Regions from separate parts of the Homo sapiens genome. Here region 2 is linked to region 1. The links are contacts of gene promoters, found by promoter capture Hi-C in human tissues and cell types (Jung and others, 2019). All regions are on one chromosome and are shown on one strand. The core of a region is centred on a gene start or on the middle of the fragment in contact, and the rest is flanking DNA. Distances in the headings are between cores, read along the strand shown.

What was found. The method cuts DNA at HindIII sites, captures the fragments that hold promoters and counts their contacts. A contact is called where the count stands out against the background at its distance.
Region 2: a fragment that was not itself captured here is called in contact with the fragment with the promoter of EFCC1 in region 1 in 2 of the 25 tissues and cell types used here (aorta and psoas muscle).

What each region holds. Positions count from the first base shown.
Region 1 is chr3:128,997,913-129,005,298 of GRCh38, forward strand. It overlaps EFCC1 (EF-hand and coiled-coil domain containing 1), which reads left to right and starts at 3,392. Exons shown (of 8, transcript NM_001377500.1): 1 at 3,392-4,412; 2 at 5,882-6,165. The coding sequence starts at 3,717. It also overlaps a transcript of CFAP92 not described here. The HindIII fragment of the contact is 14,506 bases long and covers 1,063-7,386 here.
Region 2 is chr3:129,730,292-129,737,677 of GRCh38, forward strand. All of the region lies in intron 4 of TMCC1 (transmembrane and coiled-coil domain family 1), which reads right to left. Among named protein-coding and RNA genes, the nearest start is that of PLXND1, 130 kb to the left of the region's middle. RefSeq lists an enhancer at 4,698-5,198. The HindIII fragment of the contact is 5,355 bases long and covers 1,956-7,310 here.

The DNA of each region.
Region 1 (7,386 bases), core at 2,142-4,641:
GTTCCCATCAACAACATGAAGTTTCCTGTTTCTCCAAATTCTTGACAAGATTTATTGCCTGTTTTATTCACTACAGCTATTCTCATGAGTATAATATAGTATTTCATCATAGTTTTCATGTGCATTTCCCTAACAAGAATACTGAGATTGTTTTATGCACATGTTGGCTATTTATACAACTTCTTTGGTGAAATGTCTGTTTGTATCTTCACCCACTTTTTGATTGGATTGTTTGTCTTCTTGTTACTGAGTTGTTAAGAGTTCATTGTAAATTCGGAATATAAGTCCTTTACTGGGCATATGTTTTACAAATATTTTCTCCTAGTCTCTTGTTCGTCATATTTTCTTAATAGTGTCTTTTGAAGTGCAAATGTTTTGAACTTTGATGAAGGTCCGATTCATCATTTTTTTCTTTTTTGGATCATGCATTTGGTGTCGTATCTAAGAAATCTTTGACTAACAACAGGCCTATTTTTAATAGAAGTAAAGCTTGGTGTCTGAACACTAAGCAAATCTACTAACCAAGACCCCTAAAAACCCAAAAGCTTTATGACACTGAAAATAATGGCCCAAGGACATTCCCAGACAGTTCTGGGCTCTGGATAGAACAACACAAGTTTCCAAAAAACAGGCTGATAATACCACAAGCTTATAAAATATGTATACTCCTTGGCCCAGTAATAAATCACTCAAGATATGGCACAAACTGTTCACAGTATGGTTTTTGCGGAGAAAAGCTGAAAACCACCTCAGTGGGCATCTGTGGGGGATGACAAAGCACCTTATAGTTCATCCCCAGGGAGCACAGAGCAGCCTCTGGAGCAGTGTCTGCAAAGAAACCACAGCCAAGCTGTTTACAAAGCTCAGTTCCTGTGCAAAGAAAGATCCCAATGGCGCCCTTTCCACTGTGCTTTTCATGTCAAGTTGAATGAGCTACGATTTGCACACTGTAAAATTCAGATGTACACAGTCATGCAACCACTACACCATGAAGATAGAGTATTTCAATCACTCCAAAAAGTTCTTTCATGCCCAAATACATAGAAAAGTCTGGAAATAAATACATCAGAAATACACAGTGATCCTCTCTTGGTGGCAGAATGGTGGATGATTTTTGCTTTTTAGCATTTTCCCGGACCTTTAAAAGACACTTTAAACAATATACTATTTGAAATGGCTCAAACAATACTGAACTGACTTCAGAAAATCATTTCTTTGCCACAGCCCTGACTCTCTCCCACACAGACACACGCCCATCCCCCCAGCTCATACAAAAGAACGCAAGGAGACCTCTGAGTTTGCTCACTTTGAACCTTAAACAAAAACCTTGTGGATGCAACCAGAATTATTTCAGAGGTGCCTGGTAACACCGCAGGGCAGACAGACAGGCCTGACAGCAAACCATTATCAACCCTTACTTCCCTGAGCTGTAGGGGAGTGGAGGCCGGCAACGGCTCCCAGCAAGACATTTAAAAGCTTTCTTTTCAATATTGACTGGCCCAGGAAAGCTACTGTTCAAAGGATTCCTTCACCAGCTGCAGGGATGGGGGGTGGGGAGGGTGTTGCACTCTTGCCTGGGCTACCAGCTCTTAGGGCTGACATGAAATAAAATCAGGTTCTTTTTTTTTTTTTTTTTTTTTTTTTGAGACGGAGTCTCGCTCTGTCGCCCAGGCTGGAGTGCAATGGCAGGATCTCAGCTTACTGCAACCTCCGCCTCCCAGGTTCAAGCGATTCATCTGCCTCAGCCTCCCAAGTAACTGGGATTACAGGCGCCTGCCACCACGCCCAGCTAACTTTTGGTATTTTTAGTAGAGATGGGGGTGGTTCACTATGTTGTCCAGGCTGTTCTCGAACTCTTGACCTCAGGCAATCCACCCGCCTCGGCCTCCCAAAGTGGTGGGATTACAGGCGTGAGCCACCGCGACCGGCCAAGAAAAAGAAACACATGAGAACATCTTAACAAAAGGGAAATACTGCAGTGTCTCCCATCTGCAGAAAGAACCACTGAATCCACTTATGAATCCCTCCATCTTCTTCTGTGCACTCACATACACATGTCCTAGTAGAAAATACTTAGTATTGTTTTGTGTGTTTTTGTTCTTGTTATGTAAGCATCAGTGTTGTGCATAATCAGCTTGTGGCTTGCTGTGTCCGCTCATCCTCGTTTGCTGAGTCCTAGCTGATTTGATGGACACCAGGTTGTCTCCAGTTTCTCACTGTAATAAACAATGATGCAGTGAACATCCTGTGCACAGTGGCTTTCGAAGGTAGAAGCCAAGAAGTGGACGTGATGTAAAAACTTTGTCAAATTGCCATTACTTTTATAATTAAAAACAAACCTAAAAGAATATGTCCAAAATGCTTGGGGAGAAGCCTCTAACTCCTTCCCAGCAGATATGTACTCTGGGCAAAGCCTTCAAGAACAAGTACGAATTTGCCAAATGGACAACGTGCTGATTCTGGGATACTGTGGCAGAGGAGACAGAATGCTATCGCTTTTCAAACGGCAAGATTTTACATTTAAACTCACAGAGTTATCCACAAGGCAAGATTCTGTCTCTGTCATAGCTAGGAACAGCTGAAGAGTCTGCCTCTTGCTCCAACATGGCTGGGTACCGTGGCTGGATAACCGTTCCCGGTGCAGGTAACAGGTGGACAATATCACAATATCACTGCACCCCTCTCGTGAAAAAGAAAGGGAACACAGTCTAGCACTCACCAGAGAAGCAGGTTTTTCTTCATCTTCCAGAAATGTGTTCTAAAACACCAGAAAAAAACATCAGCCAATCATCGACCTGTTAACCTAACCCCAGCTCAAGAGATGGAACTCGGATCCCATTGCCAAGTCAGCACCGGCAGGCACAAAGGTGGCAGGGCCGGGAGACACCACTTTCCCGAGAGTCCTATCCCCACCCCCAACAGGGATCGGGAGAGAGCAGTTAGCACAGGGCTCGTCTCAGATGGGCTTCTCACCAGCGGGGTGCCCCTAACCTAGACCCCTTGCCTCTCCAAGCCTGTTTCCCTCTCTTTCCCAGTTACTACTTGGGGCTCTTTGCACGGTCTATGGTGGCACAAGAAGTGGGTTCGGAAACCCAGTAGCTGAATTGAAGCGGAGGGGAGGCTTTTCCGCACCTACGGCTACAGGGCGGCGAGAGCAGGCTTGCCAGGCAACCCTCGAAAGGCCTTCCGGGAAGAGGGGGAAGAGTGACGCTTGGGTGTGGGGGCACATCCCCAGCAACCGGACGAGGCCGCCACCCCCAAGGCCCTCCTGGGCTTCGGATCCCGCGCCAACCCCTCGCCCAGGTCTCGGAGCGAACTCTCCGCGCCAGGCGGGCGGGGCGGAGGGAGGAGGGAGTTGAGAGTGGACGGCCGGGAGTGGGAGGAAAAGCGCAGACGCCAGGAACGCCCCGTGAGTGAGGAGAGGAGAGCGTGGGAGTCACGCGGAGAAGCCAGACCCAGACGCCGACCGGGCACTGGTGGCGCTGCCGGGGTCCCGGGGGTTCCTGGACCCCCTACCCCAGGCCCCTCCAAAGCAACTGGGGTAAACCAGACGCACTGTGAGGCCAGCGCAGCTGCTGGACACGGTCCCCGGCGCCGCTCCAACCAGACCGCGACCGCTAAGCCCCTCCTTTCGAGAAACTCTGGGGCCGCCCCTGGAAGTGGCGGGGCGAAGGGACCGGAGGAGGGACCGGAGGAGCGAGGCGCGCGGCGCAGCGATGGAGCCGGTCAGCACGGGCGCGGAGGCCGGCATGGAGGGCGCGGGAGGTGACCCGTACCGGCGACCTGCGCGGCGCACGCAGTGGCTGCTGAGCGCCCTGGCGCACCACTACGGGCTGGACCGCGGCGTGGAGAACGAGATCGTGGTGCTGGCCACCGGCCTGGACCAGTACCTGCAGGAGGTCTTCCACCACCTGGACTGCCGCGGCGCCGGCCGTCTGCCCCGCGCCGACTTCCGAGCGCTCTGCGCTGTGCTGGGGCTGCGCGCGGAGGGGGCCACCACGGCCGGGCAGGCAGCAGGTGACGGGAACTCCAGAGATGTGACCCCCGGGGATGCGGCCGCTGAGTTGGCCACGGACGGGGACTCAGATACCGATGAAGAGGCGCGCCTGGCGCTGCGCGCCGAGCCGCCGGAGCTCACCTTCCGCCAGTTCCACGCGCGCCTCTGTGGCTACTTCGGCACCCGTGCGGGGCCCCGGCTGCCCCGCGGCGCTCTCAGCGAGCACATCGAGACGCAGATCCGCCTGCGCCGTCCGCGCCGCCGCCGCCGCCCGCCCTGCGCGCCTGGCCCCGACAGCGGTCCTGACTGTGAGCGCGTTGCGCGGCTGGAGGAGGAGAATAGCAGCTTGCGCGAGTTGGTGGAGGACCTGCGCGCCGCGCTGCAGAGCAGTGATGCGCGCTGCCTAGCACTGCAGGTGCGCGCCGGCCACGAAGGGAGGGTGGTAACGCCCGGGAGAGGGCTCGAACTAAAAGCTGGCTGGCTGCGGAGCCCGACAGGACAGAGTCAGAGGAAGGGGAGACAGAGGGCAGCCCCACACCATCCCACTCCGCATCAGCACACTTGCATCTTGCCCCTGTTCCTCCCCATTCCACTCCAGTCCCCAACCCTATTCTTACCACCTATTCCATTCCTGAAAACCCCAATCACACTCAAACAACCATACCCCACTTTTCTGCTCCACCGCCACATCATCGCGTCTTGCCCCTTTAACCTAGGAATTGCACCTGTCTGGGTAGTCTCACATATTCCCTTTCAACAAGCATCTTTCTCTCTCCTTCCTGCCAGGCTTCTGGGAGGTTTAGGAGACAGAAGTGTGAAGAAGGCCCTGTCCTCACCTTTAGGGATATCCCTGCCTCCTGGGGTAGACTGACAGCTCCTTCTGTCAATCAGCAAAGACTTATGGGGCTCCCTGTGGGAGAAACAGAGACAAGTGAGAAACAGACAATGTGGCTCACACTGTGGATCAGGCACTCACGGGCCACCAAGTGCCTGCGGGAACCAGACCCGCTCTGGGCTATTGAGAAGAAACCATGGGGTGAGATAGGGACCCAGCCTTAGCATCTGGGAGCCGTCGACAAACACTTAAGCACTGTGCCAGCCGAGCACCAAGGGCAGTGCTGGGCCGCAGGGGTCAGAGGAGGAAAGGAACAGCCCCTACCCCAGGCGACAACAGGCCAGGAAGAAACTGACATTATATGACCCCGCCTTAGCTCAGGACACTGCAGAGTGCAGGGAAGTGGCAAGGTGTGGTTTTCAGTGTCAGTGTGCATGGAAGCCAGGGTGGAGGCGGGAAACTACTCCTCTGATGTGGAATCCCAAGTAACGTACTGGGAGCCATGGGATGCGCCTGAACGGTCTTCCGGCATCTCTCATGCTTGGTATTTATTGAGCACCTACTATGTGCCAGGTTTGTTTTAGGCTCTGGGAACACACCAGTAAAGACAGATAGAAACCACCCTCAAAAGCCTCTAGTGAGCAGGCACGGGGAGGGCTGGAAATGCCACTGGGGGGAGTCTAGGAGATGAGGAACCGCCACCCGGCAGGCTGAACGCCGCCAATACAGTAGGCCGAGAAGAGTCGCGAGGTTGGTACTATAGAGGGAACAGAATACAGGCGTCGTGTCTCAGTTTCCTTCAGTGAAAAAACGTTGGGGGGTGGGGGATGAGGAGGAATCAGAGCTTGGGCCTCCCTGGGGATGTGGCGAGGGTTAAAGGAGCTTGGACGCACCGGACCTAAGGGCCTGGCACCCGGAAGCAGACGGCGCAAGAAACGTGCTCAAGCGCTTCTGGGTGCAGAGGCATGGGGCCGCCGTCGTGGCGGGCGTTCGTCTGGTGCATCTGGCTGGGGCACTTACCCCCTGCCCCTGCTGCCCTGTCCCCGCAGGTCGGACTCTGGAAGAGCCAGGCGAGCACCCACGAGATGGGGCACGGCGGGCCGGAGGCTGCGGTGCGGGAGCTGCGTCAGGCGCAGGGCGCCCTGGCTGCGGCGGAGGCCCGCGCTGGGCGGCTGCGCCGTGGCCAGGCCGAGGTGCGGCGGCGCGCGGAGGAGGCCCGGCAGGTGGTGCTGCGCAGCCTGCACCGCGTGCGAGAGCTGGAGGCGCTGGCGCAACAGGTGCCCGGCTTGCAGCGCTGGGTGCGGCGGCTGGAGGCGGAGCTGCAACGCTACAGGTGAGCGGGGGCGCGTGCCCTGGGCCCAAGTTCCCCAATTCGGCTCCCATTTTCCCAAACTTCGGGTGTGCAATCCCCCTCCCACGCGCTCTCGTGTTCCGCAGTTTCTCCATGCGTTTATTCATGTATTCTTTCATTCCTTTGTCAGTTCTCCATTTCTTAAGTTATAAGTCTGCTCCATTGCTTGCTCTGCAACCATCTGCCCACCCATCCATTTATCCATCCATCTGTCCATCCATTCACCCACCCCACACACCCACCCATCCATCCATCCATTTGTCCATTCACTCACCCCCCCCACCCACCCATCCATCCACTCACCCATCCATCCACTCACCCATTCATCCATCCACCTATCCACTCACCTACCCACCCGTCCATCCATCTATTCATCCATCCACTCACTCACCCACCCATCCACTCACCCACCCACCCATCCATCATCCATCCATCCCCCCACCCACCCAGCCAGCCAGCCGTCCATCCATCCTCCTGTTCATCCACAAACACCCTCTATTTGTTTATCATAGATTGCAGTTGAATGTGCTCATTCTTATTTGTTCCTGGATTCGATCATAATGATAATAGCTTACAGTTACTAAGCACTCGCTGTTTGCCAGGCCTTGAGCTAAGTACTTTATGTGGCTTAACTCATTTAAGCCTCACAGCTGCCCTGTGAGGTGGGTACTGCTATGTTTCCACTCTGTAGATGAGGAAACAGGTGTGTAATGACTGCCTGTGCTAGCTCCACCAGGGCAGGAAGCTGGACTTGGGACCCAGGTTCAAATCTTGGCAGGGCTTTTGGCAGACGTGTGAGTGTGGGCAAGTCACCACCCCTCACAGACCCTGCTTCCTCTTGGGTGGAACACAGATTGGGGTCCCTGCCTGTGGGAGTGGCTGTGAAGAGGCCATGAGGTCCTGCCTGGCACATGGTAGATGCTTGGTAGACAGAGCCTCTCTCCCTTTCAAATCACAAGTCACCCCTGCCTGCTGGCCGGCCTGACTACACATTTGCTGAGCACTTTCTGTGTGCCAGGGGCCATCCCAGGCATCAGGGATGTGACCACGTGACTAGGACAGACTGAATTCCCTGCCCTGAGCAGCCACCTGTGAGCAGGTGAGACCTTCACAGGAACAGATGCGTGGCAGCAGGCAGGAGGTGGGGGACACTCATCAGCCTGCCCCCAAAGAAGTGACACTTGAGGATAGGATGTTACCGGG
Region 2 (7,386 bases), core at 3,383-5,882, 730 kb after region 1:
TAGTTTATTTTATATATTAATTTATGATTTATTTTGTGTTAATTTTTATATAAGGTGTGAGAAGTTCAAGTTTTTGCCTACAGATTTCTACTTTTTCCAACACCTCTTTTTGAAAACACTATCCTTTCTCCATTGAATTGCCTTTGTATTTTTGTGAAATATGAACTGGCAATATTTACGTGGGTCTATTTCTGAACTTTCTATTCTATTCCATTAATCTACATGTGTACCCTTTTACTAATATGGCCTCATCTTGGTTACTGTAGCTTTATGGTAAGTCTGAAAGCTGGGCAGAATAATTCACGTAACTTTATTTTTCTTTTCCAGTATGGTTGACTCTTCTAGTTCTTTTGCCTTTCGATATATATTTAAGAATAAGCTTGTCTATCTCTACAAAAAGGTCCTGCTGAGATTTCTGATTGGAATTGTGTTAAAAGGATAATAGGGAATGCCTACAAAGAACTGTGTGTACATAAATCAACAGTTTACATGAAGCGGACCAAATTCTCAAACAACAAACTACCAGAATCACCTAAGATGAAATAGATAAACTGAATGGTTATATAACAGTTTTTAAAATGAAATTTTGTAATTAAACATATTCTGAAAAAGAAATCTCCCTGTGGTTTCACTAAATTCTACCAAACATTCATTACAAATAAATCAATTCTATACAATCTGTTCCAGAAAGCAGAAGGAGGAACTCATTTTATGAAGCCAGCATTATCCAGGAATTAAACCCGGAGAAGATCTGTTAAAACAAAACAAGACAGCAGACCAATAGCCCTCATACTAGCAAATCAAACCTAGCAATGTATATGAAGAATAATATACCATAACCAAGCAGGGTTTGTATCAGGAATGCAATGCTGGTTCAATATTTGAAAACCAAGCAAGGTAAGCAACATTAGCCCAGAGAAGCAAAACCACATGATATCAATTTATACAGGAAAAGCATTTGAGAAAAGTCAACAGCCACTCATTATTAAACTCTTAGCCAATTAGGCTGGACGCGGTGGCTCACACCTGTAATCTCAGCACTTTGGGAGGCCAAGGTGGAGAGATCACATGAGGCCAGGAGTTTGAGACCAGTCTAGCCAACATGGTGAAACCCTGTCTCTACTAAAAATACAAAAATTAGCTAGACATCGTGATGCATGCCTGTAATCCCAGCTACTTGGGAGACTGAGGCACAAGAATCACTTGAACCCAGGAGGCAGAGGTTGCAGTTAACCGACATCGTGCCACTGCACTCCAGTCTGGGTGACAGAGTGAGACTCCGTCTCTAAATAAATAAATAAATAAGAACTCTTAGCAAATTAGGAATAGAGGGGAACTTCATCATTTTTTTTTTTTTAAACAGGCGTGAGCCACCGTGCCTGGCCCAAAATTTTTTTACACAGCAGCTAATTTCATACTTACTGGCTCAAGCCATCCTCCCACCTCAGCCTCCCAAGGAGCTGAGACTACAGGTGTCAGCCCCCAAGCCCGGCTAGTTTTTCGTATTTTTTTTGGTAGAGACAGGGTTTTGCCATGCTGCCCAGGCTGGTCTTGAACTCCTGAGCTTAAACGATTCACCTGCCTCAGCCTCCCAAAGGTCTGGGATTACAGGTGTGAGCCACTGTGCCTGGCTTCCCATATGTTTTAAAGAATCTCTAGATTTATAATACCCAATGCAATGCCTACACATCACTTCATTCACATGGATTCAACATAGTATTTCATGTGTGGCAAATTCAAATTTTGCTTTTTGGAACTTTTTGAAATTTTTTTTCTAAATATTTTGTGTAGACTGGCATAGTATGTTGCAACCTTGCTAACCTCACTTAGTTCTAGGAGTATTCTGTGGATTCCTTGGTTTTCTACATATACAGTGATGTAGCCAGTGAATAGAAATTGTTTTACTTCTTTCTTTCCAATTTGTATGTCTTTTATTTCCTTTTCTTGATTTATTTTACTGGCGAGAACTTCAATACCAATAGAAATTGCCAGAGAGGACATCCTTGCACTGTTCCCCAGCCAGAACTCCAATGTCAGTTAAGTTTTCAAAGTCTTTGCAGTGCTTTTTGGATCTGTCCCACAGATGCACCACCCACCCTGTTGCCAGTCTGGGACTTGGCAATGGTCTAACCCCTACTTCATTTCTCAAAGTCTAGGTATACTGTTTGGGGTCAGATTTCTGCATGCAGACTGCATGAATAAGCTCAAAAATTCATAATAAAATTTAAAGAGTTTATTTTCAAATATCTTATAATCTCCCAGTACTTTCTAGGTCAATGGGATTCCCCTTTCTCATTACCTAGTCAGAAAGCTGGTATGTTATTTACTCTGCTCAGCCATACAATTTCCATAATAGTGCCTTTGTTTGGAAGCAAGCAGATGAAGGAGAGAGAAAAAAAGCAATTGAGACTCATTCCACCCTCTTGTAACCACAGCTCCACTGATCTGAGAATGGTTCCCTAAAATCAGAGTTTTAAGCTCTTGCTAGACCCCAATCTGCTGTCACTGCAGGACTGCTTGAGGTTCATGGTGCAAGAGAACAGAGGAAAGAAAAAGGAAAAAAGAAAAAGTTTCTGTACTTTCTATTAGTATTACAATATCGCCTTCCCATTCTTTGAACCAGAACTGAAGGCTTCTCCTAGAGTTCTCTTATCCACATTAATGTCCACTTAGGGGTTTTAGGCTGTGTTGATTTGAAGCCTGAGGATATGAGAGAGGTGAGAATGATAAATTAAACCCTGGTTCAACAGTACTTCAAAATCTGCTCCTTCTTAGTGCAACTTTTAAGATACGTCTTTTGGAGTCCTCAAATAGTTGCTCTAGGCCAGGTGTTTTAGCTGAGTTCAGTAGAAAAGACAGGTGAAATGTGTTTGCTCCATCTTACCCATAACAGGCATCTTAAGCCACGAAGTTCTGAGGTGAACTGTTACACAGAAATAGATAACTGGAGTACAATCCAACTCAAGAAGCAATCATTCAAGTGTGGTGTACATGAAACAACACAGCCTTTATGCATCTTCTCTAGAAAAGTCACCAGATAATTATAAAACAGATGCTATCAGTTCAATGGCAGACTATTCTCTGCTTTCTTACCTTGGCTTCTAAGAAACAGATTCAATAGTTTCATTATTGGAGTAATCAAAGTGATAGCAGTAAAAACCATGGAAGCCTCTTAGTAGATGTGGGTTTATTCTGCTGTCAGGTATAATTTGTCAGTAAGGGTTTGGACATTTCATTCTTTCATGCCCTGACTGGTATCAGTCAGAATTAAGAGAATCATTGGAGGAAAAGGGAACAACGAGGAAAAATTTGGAAAGTGGAAATGCCCTAAGGGAAAAAATTTTCCCCAAAGTTATTCTTGTATAGAATTCCTAAAACAAGGTTTTAGTTTTGCGGTCTTGAAAACAGAGTATTTCACCAGCAAGCAGCATTTCATTCAGAATAGCCTACCAACCTGTTTGTATAATTAAGCACTAATATTTCCTGAATTAAAATATCTAGGATGTCAATCAGCTCCACTAGCTATCATAAGCTTTGCCCAACATAAACAAATCACTACACAGAAAGAAACTGTGTAGATAGCACCATTTCACATCCACGAACAGGCAAAAATTTTAAGTGTTTGTGAAGATGCAGGTCAATGGGAACTTTCACACACTACTGATAGGAATAAGTTAGCATAATCACTCTGGATAGCAATTTAGCAATATCTAGTTAAACAGAAGATGAATATACTGTATAACCCAGTAAATCCATTCCTAGGAATTACTAGATAAATTAGTATATACTAGAGAAACTCCATATATTTGCATAAGAAGACATGTTCAAGAGTATTCACTGTAGCACTGTTTATGAAACAATGAAATATTGAAAACTGTATGTCCATTAACAGGAGAATCAACTTACAAACTGGTATATTCATAAAACAGAATACTATACAACAAGTAGATCAGAACTATATGTTATCAGTGTAAATAATTTCAAAAGCATGATATCAAGTGAAAAGAGTAAAGAAATTTTGCGTATACAGACTTGCATAACATGTAGAAGAGAATCATTTACATAAAATTTAAAATCATGTAAAACAAAACTATATGTTTTTTTATGGACAGATGTACATGCAATACAAGTACATAGACATATTTGTTATTTGAGAGGCTGAGGTGGGCAGACTGCTTAAGCTCAGGAGTTTGACATCAGCCTGGGCAACATGGAGAAACCCCGTCACTACAAACAATATAAAAATTAGCTGGGCTTGGTGCTGGTGCCTGTAGTCCCAGCTACTTGAGGCTGAGGTGGGAGGATTGCTTGAGCCCAGAAGGCAGAGGCTGCAGTGAGCTGTGATTGCATCACTGCACTCCAGCATGGGTGACAGAGGGAGATTCTGTCTCAAAAAACACAAAAGAATAAAACACATATGTTAATGAAAAACACTAAATTCAGGATAGTACTTGTCTCTGAAGAAGCGGAATGGATTGAGGAATGGTACACAAAAAAATGAAAGTACCAAGTTTGAAAAGCTTGGTAATTGTGCTTGAGTGTTTGTTGTTATTCTCTTTTTCATTTTTCTTGCATACAGCCACCCATTAATCTCTTTATTTTTCTGTTCGAAATTTTTTTTTTTTTTTTGAGATGGAGTCTCGCCCTGTCACCCAGGCTGGAGTGCAGTGGCGTGATCTCGGCTCACTGCAAGCTCCGTCTCCGGGTTCATGCTGTTCTCCTGCCTCAGCCTCCCAAGCAGCTGGGACTACAGGCGCCCGCCACCACGCCCGGCTAATTTTTTACATTTTTAGCAGAGATGGGGTTTCACTGTGTTAGCCAGGCTGGTCTCTATCTCCTGACCTCATGACCCGCCCGCCTTGGCCTCCCAAAGTGTTGGGATTACAGGCGTGAGCCACTGCACCCAGCCTCTGTTTGAAATATTTTATAACACAAAAATCAGAAAGAAAAAAACTATGAGAACATATATACATTACATTGTTAACATTCAAATGTTTAATGAAAGAATATTCTAACAATATGTTAGCTAAACACACTTCGCCAAAAAAGTGTGTTTAAGCAAGCTAAAAGGGGCCAGGTGTGATGGCTCACTCCTGTAATCCCAGCACTTTGGGAGCTGAGGCAGGAGGATTGCTTGAGGCAAGAGTTTGAGACCAGCCTTGGCAACACAGTGAGATCCTGTCTCCACAAAAAAGGAAAAAGAAAAAAATAGCCAGGTGTTGTGGCACGCACCTGTAGTCCTAGCTACTTGGGAGGCTGAGGCGGGAGGATCTCTTGAGCCCAGGAGTTCAAGGCTGCTGTGAACTATGATTGTGCCACTGCACTCCAGCCTGGGCGACAGAGCCAAGACTCTCTTAAAAAAAAAAAAAAAAGCAAAGAGAACCAGGGATTATGAAGATTTAATACGTTTCAAAAGTGCATGTAAGAGAGCAAGTGAAAAACAGGTTAGCTTCTGTTATATCCTAAGTAAAGGTCTCATGACTCAAGACAGTAAGGAGAGGAGCAGCCTCTATGAGCTCTCTTGCTTTCCCCACCATCATCTGCTACAATACAGTACAGCAGGTTATTTGGCACATCTTGCAGCCTGGCAGTGATTTCGTTCAAAGCTGCGAACATGGTAGAAGCCTGCTGACCTTCTGGGGGGACTCCTGGAACATCAGAGAAAGAAAAGTCTACATGGAGTAGAGCCGAAAGACCTGCTCTTATCTGTAGACCTTAAGTAATGTACTTTGGCCAGAGTAGAAAGGGGAGTTTTACTCATTCTATACCCTCTTCTGGCTCTCATATGACTTGCTGGGTAAGAAAGTAGAGAATTTGTTTTTTTGATCTTACAAATGACCCAAAAATCTGCTGGGTCACCTGAGTTAAGGCTGTGGATCTCGTGCAGGGATTGTGAGGAGGATGAGCAAGTGATCACCATGTTCACTTGGTATCTACTGGCACAAATGCCAAACTATCAATTCTACTGACTCATCTGCATCTGCAACTGGCAGGACATACCTGTATCCCGTGCAGAGCCTGCCAGAATGCTACACTGTAGAGTCACTCAGGATAGTGAAAACTGTGGCAATAATTTTATCACACAATTGTTTAATACTTTAGTTACTTATCCCTTTATGTTAGTTGTACAATGTTAGGCAAAAACAAGTCTAGGCCATTTAATAATTGTGATGAAACTTCTCCTTTAAAAAAATGAAGGCTGGACTAGTAATGACAATTATTATTTTCTTTTCTTTTTTTTTTTTTTTGAGATGGAGTCTAGCTCTGCTGCCCAGGCTGGAATGCAATGGCACAATCTCGGCTCACTGCCACCCCCACCTCCCAGGTTCAAGTGATTCTCCTGTCTCAGCCTCCTGAGTAGCTGGGATCACAGGCGCCCGCCACCACGCCCAGCTAATTTTTGTAATTTTAGTAGAGACAGGGTTTCACTGTGTTGGTCAGGCTGGTCTCGAACTCCTGACCTCATGATCCACCTGGCTCAGCCTCCCAAAGTGCTGGGATTACAAGCGTGAGCCACTGCGCCCGGCCGCAATTATTCAAGTATGAGTACCCTTTCTCTAACTTTTAATTATAAAAAATTTCAAATATACTGGAAAAAAAACCAGAAAAGATGTTATAATAAACAGCCATATACCTACCACCCATACTCAACAACTGTTAACCTTTTGCCATATTTGCTTCACTTTCACACATATGCAAACCTAAACCACTTAAAGTAAATTACATATGATCCTCCACACTGCTATGATCTGCATGTCTCCCCAAAATTCATATGTTGGAACCTAATACCCAATGTGATAGTGTTAAAAGGTGGGGCTTTTGGAAAGTGATTAAGTCATAAGGGCTTCACCCTCATGAATGTGACTGCTGCCTTATAAAAGAGGCTAGAGGGGGGCCGGGCGTGGTGGCTCACACCTGTAATCCCAGCACTTTGGGAGGCTGAGGTGGGCGAATCACCTGAGGTCAGGAGTTCAAGACCAGAGACCAGTCTGGTCTGGCCAACATGGCAAAACCCCATCTCTACGAAAAAAATACAAAGATTAGCTGGGCGTGGTGGCACACACCTGTAATCGCAGCTACTCAGGAGACTGAAACAGAGAATTGCTTGAACCCAGGAAGCGGAGGTTGTAGTGAGCCGAGATCACGCCGCTGCACTCCAGCCTGGGCAACACAGCAAGCCTCCATCTCAGAAAAAAAAAAAAAGAGGCTTGACGGAATTCTCTTGCCCCTTTCACCATGTGATGATGCAGCAAGAAGGTGACATCTATCTATGAGAAATAGGCCTTCACCAGACACCAAATCTGCTGGCACCTTGAACTTGGACTTCCCAGTTTCCAGAACTGTGAGAAATAAATTTCTGTTGTTTTTAAACTACCCAGTCTAGCG